Linked DNA regions of Homo sapiens: region 2 is linked to region 1. The links are contacts of gene promoters, found by promoter capture Hi-C in blood cells and fetal thymus (Javierre and others, 2016). All regions are on one chromosome and are shown on one strand. Each heading gives the region's core, a stretch centred on a gene start or on the middle of the fragment in contact. The rest is flanking DNA. Distances are from core to core; before and after follow the strand shown.

Evidence for each region. The method cuts DNA at HindIII sites, captures the fragments that hold promoters and counts their contacts. A CHiCAGO score of 5 or more calls a contact.
Region 2: a contact is called between a fragment that was not itself captured here and the fragment with the promoter of SGK1 in region 1, in 1 of 17 cell types (neutrophils). The highest score is 8.7, in neutrophils.

The regions. Positions count from the first base shown.
Region 1 is chr6:134,315,898-134,322,154 of GRCh38, reverse strand. It overlaps SGK1 (serum/glucocorticoid regulated kinase 1), which reads left to right and starts at 4,043. Exons shown (of 14, transcript NM_001143676.3): 1 at 4,043-4,763. The coding sequence starts at 4,695. RefSeq lists an enhancer at 4,216-4,495. The HindIII fragment of the contact is 10,717 bases long and covers 1-6,257 here.
Region 2 is chr6:134,587,287-134,593,585 of GRCh38, reverse strand. No RefSeq gene overlaps it. Among named protein-coding and RNA genes, the nearest start is that of LINC03002, 50 kb to the right of the region's middle. The HindIII fragment of the contact is 1,611 bases long and covers 3,197-4,807 here.

The DNA of each region.
Region 1 (6,257 bases), core at 2,794-5,293:
TTTATTACTTTGCAAAACCCTTTCAAATATAATTTGGTACTGACAATTCCTTTAGGAGGTAGGTGAAGAAGCATTTTATTATTATTATTTTACAGATGAAGAAACTGAGGCTTAGTGCGTTGAGGGAACTTGTTGAAGGTTGCACAATTAGGGAATGGAAGTGAGGTAGAAGATGTTCCAAATCAATACAGCAGTCTTTCCACCGCAGGTACATATTGGTAGTTAGTCCTACCTAGCTACTTTATTTTATTCTTTGTGTGACAGCCTAAACAATATTGTTGGGAGGAAAAGTAGGTATACCACAAAAAAATCAAATAGAGGTTCAAGGGATTCTTTTTGTTTGTTTGTTTATTTATTTATTTATTTTGAGAGAGTCTTGCTCTGTTGCCCAGGCTAAAGTGCAGTGGAACAACCATGTCTCACTGCAGCCTCAACTTCCCAGGGTCAAGCAATCCTTCCACCTAAGCCTCCTAAACAGCTGGACCACAGGCATGCATCACCACACCACCTATTTTTTTTCCTTTTTGTAGAAATGGGGCTTTGCTATGTTGCCAGGCTGGTCTCAAACTCCTGGGCTCAAGTTATCCTCCTACCTCGGCCTCCCAAATTGTTGGCATTATAGGCATGAGCCACTGTGCCTGGCCCAAGGGATTATTTTTAACATTGGGATTTTCCATCAAAAAGAAGTGTCATCCCAGGGCTACAGTGTCATTGAGGCTTAAAGAGGAAATGGTGAGGAGTGAGGTCGTTTGCTCTTACTGGAGCTCAGCATATTGGCTATCATGGGAGAGAGCTTAATGACTGAAGAATCTTAAAGGTATTTAATGATTCCTGCAAATGGTCTGGTGCCAGGGTCACTGATGTCAGCTATACTTACTTTTGTATTTAATTCGTTTGAAAACCATTTGTTGAGTGCTAGCATGGCCCAGGCACTCCGCTGTGTGCTGGTGCTACAAAAATAAATAAGTGTGTTTTATGGGAACAAGAAGTGAGTTAATTAATTAAATTAAGTTTGATTTATAAACAAGATGTTGCATGAGTCCAGAGTTTTTTTTTTTATTATTATAAGCAGGAGCCTGTGCTCCTTTATAGGTATCAACAGTGGACCTGTCAAAGGAAACATTTAGTAAACAGTAGTCACTCTGGGCTTACCTGAGGGCAGCTTTACTTATGAAAATAGAGGTCAGAGTGAGATGAAAGATGCCTTCTTTTCCTGAATAACCAACACAGTGCAGTTAATGCATTTCTCTATTATTGCACCAATCAAAAGATAATCCAAAATAATTGGCTGTCAGATATAGTCAGAATCCCTGCCCTATACTTCTCTTCCTTCATCTGACTGACCTACTCATTCTTTAAGGCCATGCACTAACATCATCCCTTTAGGTAAATTTCCTGGACCTCTCTTACCCATCCAGCCCCACCCTTCCCCCCTCCAAATTAAGGCAGGGTTGATGCATACACACCACACACACACACACACACACACACACACACACACACACAGAGTAGTACACTCTTATCCATGGGGGATACATTCCAAGACCCCCCCCATGGATGCGTGAAACTTCAGATAGTACCAAACTCCATATACATTATGTTTTTTCCTGTACATACATACCTATAATAAAGTTTAATTTATAAATCAAGCACAGTAAGAGATTAACAACAATAGTAGAATAATTTTAACAATGTACGATAATAAAAATGATGTGACTGTGGTCTCTCTCTGTGTCTCTAAAAGTATCGTATTGTACTCACTGATTTTCAGACCATTGTTGACCTTAGGTAACTGAAACTGTGGAAGGTAAAACCTCAGATAAGGGAGGACTACTGTATATAGTATTCTTACCACACTGTATATTTCTCTACTAGGCTGTGAGTTCCTTGGTGACAAAAACCAGTGACACTTACATGCACTGGACCTTCCATAGGATCTAGCATAGACCAAGTGACAGTGGCAGCATCTTCAAGAGGTGGCATGGAGTGAGGGAAAAGATAGCATTTAGCTTGTCTTCTCCTCCCTCATAATCTCTATTAACCACCCGCCTGCACCCCAAATGAACATACATCCTACATGAAACCAGGGTATTAGTCCGTTCTCACACTGCTAATAAAGACATAGTGAGATGGGTAATTTATACAGGAAAGAGGTTTAATTGACTCACAGTTCAGCATGGCTGGGGAGGCCTCAGGAAACTTACAATCAGAGCAGAAGGGGAAGCAAACACATTCTTCTTCACATGGCATCAGGAAGGGGAAGTGCTGAGCAAAAGGGAGAAAAGCCCCTTATAAAACCATCAGATCTCATGAGAAATCACTCACTGTGGGAACTACAATTCAAGACGAGATTTGGGTGGGGACACAGCCAAATGATATCAACCAGTATGCATGCTAGGCCAATGTGGGATTAAGCAAAGCCCCAGCACCTCCTTCCTAGCAGAGTGCTTAAAGGTCCCCTCCTGTATATTACTCAAATTCAATAAATGTCTGTTAAAACACTTTTGGGGGAGTGGCAATGGGACGAAAAAGAAAGAACTTGAATGACCATCATTTTTTAAAATGAGGTCCATTGAGGTATAATTTACATGCAGCAAAAGTTTCCCTTTTCCTATATAAAATTTGATGAGTTCTGACAAATGCATAGTTATGTAACCACCACCATCATCATGATAGAGAACACTTCCATCGTCTCAAAATAATTCCCTTTGAACTACCATAATTTTAAATGAACTCTTTAGAAGAACCACAAAAACTTATCAATGTTGTAGATTACATAACATATACTTGCATCTTGGACAACTTAACATATCTCTCCAAAATGAATAGTTGTTTTCCCTTGGTTATCATGCCATCATTTAGTTGTATTGCATTTTCTTTTTGGAAACCTCAAGGCATTTAGCAAACAGGATTTCATGTTTATTCCCAAAAACTCTGGCCCAACTGTAGAGATTTATAGTCCAATTCAATGAAACCCATGCATTTCTTTCCCAGTTTAACCTGATGTTTCTCTTCTTACCAGAGACTTCCATGTAAATACTTTAACAATGTTAGGTGTGTTATATATAATGAGGTCATAATCAGTTTCAAATTAGCATTGCGCCTTTCACTTATTTATCAATTATATTCCCTTGTGATGATTATGAAAAGGCTCCACATCCTGAGGACACTTGTCAGAGTTAGATTTATTAATGGAATGAAATAGCAAATAATGAATGACTAAATAAATGAATGAGTGAATGAATGAATGAGTGGCTGCCTCCATTTTATGGATGAGGCAGTGTCCGAAAGGCACAGTGAGGTCAGGTGATGGCAGAAAGCCACACACCGATGTTGGTGGCTTTCTGCCAGGTCAGATGCCAAGTTTATTTTCTTTGCTTTCTTGCTTTACTATCAACTAATCTTTAAAATCATTCCCATAAAATATCAACATTAAAGAATAAAAATGGAAAAATAAGCCACATACAATTAAATGGCTTTTTTAAAAGGAGCTCAGTGTGCAAAGGATAACATGAGTAAGGATTTTTTGGGAAATTTTTCACCTAATAGGAAGAATGCTTTACTCTTTTATTTATCAAACCTTCCTCATCATTAAATGGATTCAGTAGTACTTTTTGGTAATAACTCGTGTGTGTGTGTATGTGTGTAATAAAGTACTTTGTATATGTTCATTGTGTTCTTTTTTTAATAAGCTGTTTTAATGAAAAAGACACAATTACCGTCACCATTGCCCACTATATAATGACAAGTAGGGGAGGGGAGGCTAAAAGAGCTTCTACATAGTGAGAGATCTTCCATTGTTATACCTACGCTTGCACTTTATTTCATTTTCTTCCACGTTTGGACAGGTCGAGATTAAATGTGATTACATTTCCGTTGAGAGGCTTTTATTCAGCAACAGGATTCAAAAGAATGTCAATGAGCATAAAATAAAAACGGTGTGCAATTTATATGAAACTCTGATTTAAATGGTCCTAACCAAAAAAAAAAAAAAAGAAAGAAAGAAAAGAAGCTATTTAAAGTAACCCTCCCAAGGGGAGTCAACTGCTCTTCAGTGTGCCCTGAGCCGGCTGTGCCTTCTCTCCATCCGCTGCTCAGATATTCATGAACCGTTGCTTCTTCCAGCCTCGCCTTCTCGCTCCCTCTGCCTTTCTGGCGCTGTTCTCCCTCCCTCCCTCTGGCTTCTGCTCTTTCTTACTCCTTCTCTCAGCTGCTTAACTACAGCTCCCACTGGAACTTGCACAATCAAAAACAACTCTCCTCTCTCAAGCCGCCTCCAGGAGCGCATCACCTGGAGAAGAGCGACTCGCTCCCCGCGCCGGCCGCGGAAGAGCAGCCAGGTAGCTGGGGGCGGGGAGGCGTACCCTTCTCCCGCTCGGTAAGAGCCACAGCATCTCCCCGGAGATTGGCCGTATCCCACCGTCCGGCCCCCAGGGTCCTGCAGCGGTGATGCATATGTTTCGGAGCAATGATGGAAGGAGAAAAGCCGCTGTCGGTGGCAACTGAAAGTGGGGAGAGGTTGCTGCAGTAGCTGGTGCTGCAGAATGCGCGAGTGAAGAACTGAGCCCCGCTAGATTCTCCATCCCGCTCAGTCTTCATTAACTGTCTGCAGGAGGTAAACCGGGGAAACAGATATGCACTAACCAGGCGGGTGCCAACCTGGATCTATAACTGTGAATTCCCCACGGTGGAAAATGGTAAACAAAGACATGAATGGATTCCCAGTCAAGAAATGCTCAGCCTTCCAATTTTTTAAGAAGCGGGTAAGGACAGGTTTTGCTTATTTCTTTTGTTTTCTGTGCTTCTCTTAAATGCTTTTGAATGTTTGCCTGAAGTAAGCCTGAGGTTTTGTTGCTAAACCCTTAATGTAAGCCGTGCTTCTGATGGCAGTGGTAAAGCTGAGAACTATACCTGACTTGATTAGAATTTGTTGGAGGAGGGGCAGGGGGCTATGAAGAGTTGCATTGGGAGGAGGGGGTTGGGCTGAGATGCCTTAAACGGGTTTGAGCTGGGAATGGGGATTTTTCTCTCTCAAGCCACAACAAAGATTACAAGGCAGTCGCAAAGAGAACTGGCTTGAGTACAATTATGGCTAGTAATTTAGTCAGGGGCTAATTTAGCAGCTTCCTCTCATCTTTGAAGGGTTCAACTTTTCTACACCTTTCATCCACTCAGTCTCAAGTGATGCATTATCATCTTCGTTCGTCAGAAGCAGCAGCTTCTGGTTTCCCAAATCCATTCAGCCAATAATTTGCTGTGTCTCTATCTGTGGTATAAATAGCAAAGGAGTAGAATGACCTTTTACAGAAATGATGGAATCCAGCATTTAAAATTGTCTATTTTAAGTTGCCTCAATTTTTGCTTTTGCTTAGAATAACTGCCTTTTTTTTTTTTTTTTTTTTTTTTTTTTTGGGAGAGAGCAGTGGGAGGTCTGTATTTGAGTGATAATTCAGGGTTATGTTGCTGTATGCATTTATTTCTTAAACTCCTTATTCTTCAACTCAAAGTATGAATAATGTTGCATTGGTTGTAGGTGAGAAAAAAGGATTTTTTTGCATGTATATTTCACAATAAACTCAGTTCACTGGGATGGCCACACTGGTGGTCTGTGTAAATCTGCAAATTTATACACAAGCGGGAGGTAAGAAATGAATGATTGTTAAAGGAATGACACTGACACTCTTAAGGACAGTGTTTCCTAAGCAACGTAAGAGAAGGAACATCCTCCAGTCCCCAGTTGCCCCATCCTATTTAATACCCTAGGGCAATTCCACCAAAATGGTTCTCTCCATTCATTCCTCCTTCCTTTCATTCAGGTCCTTTCTGTGCCACTCCTGAAACACAGCCCTTCAGTTAACTCATCCGCAGAACACAGTGAATTTCAGGGTGGGCTGGACTATCTCCCTGCACCAAATGGGCAAGCTGGGAAGGCAAGGCTAGAAATGCAGGCAACATGTCAGGCCCAGCTAGAGGGCCAGCGAAGGCTCCCAAGCACCCTTGACTGAGTTCTCATCAGTAAAGCAAAATCTTTCTCCAAGTCTGTGGGCCAAAGCATATGCATTCAAACCAAAATGAAACCAACCTGTCCTGGCCCCTGCTCTTGGAGTGGGAGTACCATGTGAAATCTCACTAGTGAGCTGCAAGCTAAGTGAAAGCAAGTCAGTGCAACTTCACAGAGCTCCACAAGGCTTCTTAGTTTTTCTCTGTAGCTAAAATATTTCTTTCCAAGGGAAGAGCCCTTTATGAAAATTAATTTT
Region 2 (6,299 bases), core at 2,753-5,252, 270 kb before region 1:
ACAAATAATGCATGACCTCCACTTTTCCAGACACTGCAGCTTTATGATTGATGATCAGCTCTGCCTCCCTCACCTGTTATTATTCCCTTTGTTGAGTGCTTGTCTATGAAAAGATTTCACTTTTAAGACATGCAGTGCCTAAAATTAAGAACAGCAAACTTCATCTTCTCTTTTTTGAGCAGGGGGATGTATTTTAAATGCCTAAGGCCAGATAACTTTGATTTTAGAGGGAAGCATTGTACAACCTAGGAAGGGAAAGGCAAAGCCTGGTCTAGCTCCAGAATGGCAGAGCAGAAACTCTTCAGCCCAAAAACTGCTGAGCAGCCTCAAAGCTGCACACCTCCTCCCGGGACCCTGGCAGGAGGTACAGTACAGGTCAAGAGTTCAGACACTGCATGTTTTTCCAAGGAATAAATGTACCATAGTCACATCTCAGCTCTCAGTTGGGGACACAGGAAGGGTAGGGGAGAGTTTGATTCTTCTGTGGTAGAAATGGTTATTTAAAATAGCAGTAGGGAATTGTTCAGCTAAATTATGGTATAACCACTCAGTGGACTATTATCCAGAACTTTAAAGTGAAAATTTTAAGATACGAAATAACCTAGAAAAATGTTACAATAAAATTTTAGTGTAAAAATCTGAATGCTCAATTTCATCAGTATTATAATTGCAGTGAGTGGGAAGAAATATGGAATAAAAAAAGAAAATAGATGATATGCTATATAGGGGCACTGGGTTTTTTTTCCCTTTTCATATATTTACAACATTTGTTATTGCATAATAAAAATTATTGCACTATTTTAAAAAGTGAAGCCTAGTCTTAAAGATTTGATCTTGCCACTAAATTCAATTTTAAGGCCTCTTATTCCCTAAGGAATATCCACTCCCCATTTCTCTCTCTTTTTTAAATATCCAGAATCTGTGAGCAATAAGAATGTATAAGGTAGCATAACTCTAGAGAATTTACAAGAGAATCTCTGAAGTTCAAGCATAACATCAGCACTACCCTATTAAAATTTACATAAAAACCTTTCTTTCCTTTTTCTAAGTAGTACTAGTGTATTAATTATTTAAATAAATTTCTTTTTTGTATAGTTTTTGATTTACAGAAAAATTAGAACAATAGTATGGACAGTTCCTATATACCTCATACCCAAGCTCCCTAGTATTAACATCTGATCTTAATGGGGTATTTTTGTTAAAATTAATGAACCAATATTGTTAAATTATTATTAACTAAAGCCCATATTGTATTCATATATCTTTAAAGTTTACCAATGTCCTTTCTCTGCTCCAGAATCGCATCTAAGATTCCATACTTAACATTTAGTCGTTGTGTCTCCTTGGGCCCTCATGGCTGTGAGTTTCTCAGACTTTTCTTGCTTTTGATAACCTTGGCTGTTTTGAGGAGCATTGGTCAGGTGTGTTTTAGAATGATCCTCGGCAGGGATTTATCTGATGTATTTCTCATGTTTAGACTGGGGTTTTGGGTCTTTGGAGGGTAGACCACAAAGTGAAGGGTTGTTGCTACCCCATTTATCAAGGCTGCACACCATGAACATGACTTACGCTGTGGATGTTGACCTTGGTCACCTGGTTGAGGCAGCGAAAGATCTTTTTCACTGCTTCAGTAAAAAATCCAGGTGTAGCTAGCATTTATCAGGTGTATTTAAAGCATTTATGCAGCTTTTGGGCTGCTTAAGCAGATCTTTCACTGCTTGAGTATCTGCCAAGAGTAAAAAGAGTCAAAACAAACATGGCAACCAAATAAATAAGCAACAAGCAAACAAACATGGCAAGACTTTAACCTGGGACTCTCAGAATTTATTAAATAAGAAAGCATCACTCTTCACATGGATCCCCTTTTCTCCTCTCCATACACCATCTGCCTCCGCCTTTCCTGCCTTGGCACCTGTATTTGCTTTTATGTATATCTTAGTGTGATTCTATTTATATATAAATATATGTTCATATTTAAATCATTTCAGAAATTGAAGTGATATAGATCCTCCAAAACTATTGAGGGGGTGTCCAATGTTGAATTTTGTGCTGTGAAGATACAAGCCAGATTTTTACGTAGAGGTGGAGATTATGTATTTAAAAACATCTTTCCTCCATTCTGACAGAATAAATAAATTTCATAGCGTTGTCAAGCAAAAACATCCTGCAAATGATGAGGGTTAAATGCCTGACCCTTCACAAGTCTGTTGGGGGATAAGACTTGCATCTCAGGGAGTCACCGGGGAAATTGTTCTAAGAAGCCACATTTGCCCCTCGATTTGTTTTTTGGTTTGTTTGTTTGTTTGTTTGTTTGTTTGTTTTTGAGATGGAGTCTTGCTTAGGCTGACTGCCCAGGCTGGAGTGCAGTGGCGTGGTCTCGGCTCACTGCAACCTCTGCCTCCTGGGTTCAAGCGATTTTCCTACCTCCGTCTCTGAGCAGCTGGGGTTACAGGTGCCTGCCACCATGCCCAGCTAATTTTTGTATTTTTAGTAGAGACGGGGTTTCACCATGTTGGTCAGTCTGGTCTCGAACTCCTGACCTCAAGTGATCAGCCTGCTTCAGCCTCCTAAACTGTTGGGATTACAGGCATGAGCCATCGTGCCCAGCCTGCCCCTCAAATTTTGATGTCTCCCCTGTATCTGACTCATTGAGATTGCTTGATAAAAATGTGTTGAATGAAAAGCTGAATATTTTAATAAAGAGCCAAGAGCATATTAAAAATAAAGTTTCCTAGAGATACTGGCCACTTTCGGCCCGGCCACAGGCCTTTCTGGGGAGTGTGCTCCATCTGTAGTCTTTGCTCTGTAAACTCATGAGCTGCACCCCACACACGCACAGAGATTTCAGAAGCCTGACCTCAAGACAGCCAGCACATAGGTTTGCCATCACATACTCAGGAGCTGGCACACAAAGATGAGCTGGGCCAACCAGAGTCTTTCCTTTGGCAATTTGGACTCAACAACAAGGAATGAATTGCCAGGAAGTAATTTTATTGGAGCTGTCAAATTGCCACAGGCTCACGTAAGCCAAAGCCACGTGCAAGATGAAGTTATGACGTGGCATAGAAAAGAGAGAAAAAGCTGGTCAGAAAAGAATGTCTTTCACAAAGAAGGGAACAACAAACACCGGGGCCTACTTGAGGGTGGAGGGTGGGAGGAAGGCGAGGATCAAAAACTACCTGCCGGGTACTAAGCTTATTACCTGGGTGACGAAATAATCTGTACACCAAACCCCCGAGACACACAGTTTGTCTACGTAACAAACCTGCACCTAAAATAAAAGGTTAAAAAAAAAAAAGAAGAAGAAAGTGATGTCACCGAGAGATACTGAGTCAGAGAGGTCATGAGACAGGGGACATGAAAGAGATCAAAGGAGAGAGACCAGGGCCTAAAACTGGGGAACATCTAGGGCCTTATGACCTTCTGATCCATTCTGGTCTGTGTGGATATTTTCAGGTAACACCCAAGCCCTGCCCTGAAGTAAAGTGGGTCTCTGTTCCTTAGAGGTCAAAGAGCATTATTTAAAACAGTTAAGTTCCCTAGGAACCCAGCCCCCAAACAGCCTACTAAATTTTTCAGAGCTGAATAATTTCCCTTGCAAAAGGGGAAGATTTTAAATATCTTAGAACTGTGGATCCTACAGTCAAAATTCCCAGTTTACCGGTTGTCAAAAGGTTTGTTTAGATATAGTGCAGGAAAGAGGGAGAAGATGGGAACCAAGTGGCCTTCCCACGGCTTCCCATGGCTTCCCACAGTTAACTTGGAGCTCTTTTCCCAAGTCACACCCATGCTATTTTCCTGCCTCCTGGATGAAGCCTGTTGCAAAAGCTCTGAATTCCAACCTTGCAAATGCACCCGATGATGCATATAGCTGCTTGCTCCCGGAGGCTACTGGGCTGCTTCCCTTAGTCATAACGTAGGCATGGATCTTTCCCATCAGTGATGACGTTTTTACAAGATCAGTTATGTTATGAGTTTGTTGAGTAATAACACTGAATTTGTTATTTTATAAATGTGCAAAAACATGACCAAAGAGTGTCTTAAAACATGCCACAAGTAGAATGTTATGCATAGTAACAGATTTAAAGACATTAGTATAAAACTCAGTAGCTATTCAGACCAACAAAATCTGAAAAAATAAATATTTGAATATTTATGCTTCTCTTGAACATAGTCTCTGCTTCTTTTGCATAGTAACTTATTTGTTCCTTTTAAAGTATATTTGTTGATAGTTTCTTGGATTTCGACTTTCTGATTTGGGGAAAAATTTTTAGTCAATTTATGTAAAAGTATAATTGTGGAGTCTTCAATGGATTCTTAAAAAACTATTCTTTTTTTTGTAATAGAAAATGTTTGGCCCTTTTTGTGCTTCATGGATTTGTTGAGTATAAAATTTGAGAAGATTTTATTAGGTTATACTTTTGCCTGAAAAGTAGAATTACCTAATTAAGTTATATAATTATATTATAGAACTGAATTAGAATTGTTTTTAAGCTAAGTAACACATCAGGAGAGTGGCTAAGTTTTGTTGATTGTGAAATCAATTTTTATTCAGTTTTACTTTTTAAGTAAAGCCTGATGAAGGACAAGACCAAGATGTCAAACAGATAGAGTGAGAAACTTGGCAAAGCTAGATTCTTGAATTGAATTTTGTCTCATGTTTGAAGTTGAGGTTTCCCCAAGACTGGCTACAAACTTTATATTTTAGCCACTAAAATCTGAAAGAGTCTTGCTGTATCTGAAAGGACAGAACATTTATGTATTTCACCAGGATAACTCCTGGGGTGCCTGCAGTGTTGAGTAAGCTTTCACTCAACATTGCCTGTGGATTTGAAAATGTAGCAGGGTAGGGTGGTGCAAAGAAAGGTAGAGCTGGGTGTGTGGACTTTGCCAACCATCAAAGCCAACAGCCCTTGTGTGTTCAATGCTTTATGTATTCAATGGTTCACTTATAGAGGGACTGTGAAAATTTAACCTGAATTATTCCTGTGACCTAATAACAGGATCTCCAAACAGCCCAAACTCCTTTGGTTTAGAGAATGCCTTTGTCTATATTTGCTTTATTACGTGAAGATAGACAGACGCTTTATATACAGGGGGCATGCATAAGCCTACCTATTTGAATTGGTGTGTGTTACATCTATGGGGGACTGAAGCACCAAATGAATAGACCTAGACCCTATAATTTCTTTCTTACACATATGTAATCATATTACCAAAACAAAGCAATCCTCAGCTGCTATATACATATGTGTTTGTTTGTGTTTCCAGGCATTATAGATTATGTTCATTTCATCTGCATCATTTTCTTGGAAGCTGCTAATGGGTTAAAAGCATGTCTCCTCTTTTCCCTGGAAGCTGCCCACAGTGCCTGAGATAATGTTGTGCCCACAGAGATGGTTCAGAGAACACGGTGGTCCCTAAGAGATGACTAAGCTAAATATGGGAAGAGTAAATTATTTTCTGTTTCCTTCGTTCCTTCCTTCCTTCCTTCCTCCCTCCCTTCCCTCTCTCTCTCTCTCCCTCCCCATCCCTCCCTCCCTTCCTTCCTCCCTCCCTCCTTTTCTTTTCTTTCTTTCTTTCCTTCCTTCCTTTCTTCCTTTCTCTTTCTTTCTTTCCTTCCTTTCTTTCTCTCAAATAAAGAAGTTTGTTTTTCATTTCTCTTCACACACTTTGTAAAATACATTGCTTATGGCACTCACATCAGAAGCTCCTTTTCTATTTTCACCATTTAATTCTAGTCGTTCCCTCAAATTACAAAAGTGCTAAAAATTATAAATATTTCTGAGGAAAACAACATAAAAAGTCTTGTGAAACTTTATACAAATGGCACTTGAATTTTTTTTAATTGCTTCTTAGACTCTTTTTTTCTTTCTTTCTTTTGTTTTTTTTTTTGAGACAGAGTCTCACTCTGTCACCCAGGCTGGAGTGCAGTGGCATGCTCTCCTCACTACAACCTCTACCTTCCAGGCTTAAGCAATTCTCCTGTCTCAGCCTCCTGAGTAGCTGGGATTATAGGCATGTACCACCATGTCCAGCTAATTTTTGTATTTTTAGTAGAGACAGGGTTTCACCATGTTGGCCAGGCTGGCCTTGAACTCCTGACCTCAGGTGATCTGCCCACCTCAGTATCCCAAAGTGCTGGGATTACAGGCTTGAGCCACTGCACCTGGCCTGAGCCACCACATCCCGCTAGACTTTTCAACCAAAGTGGTTTAAAATGGCAGGGGGTCATGAACACAAACCCAGAGTCCCTCAGTCTCAGGCTAGTCTTCCAACTTACTGCTGTAAACCCAACA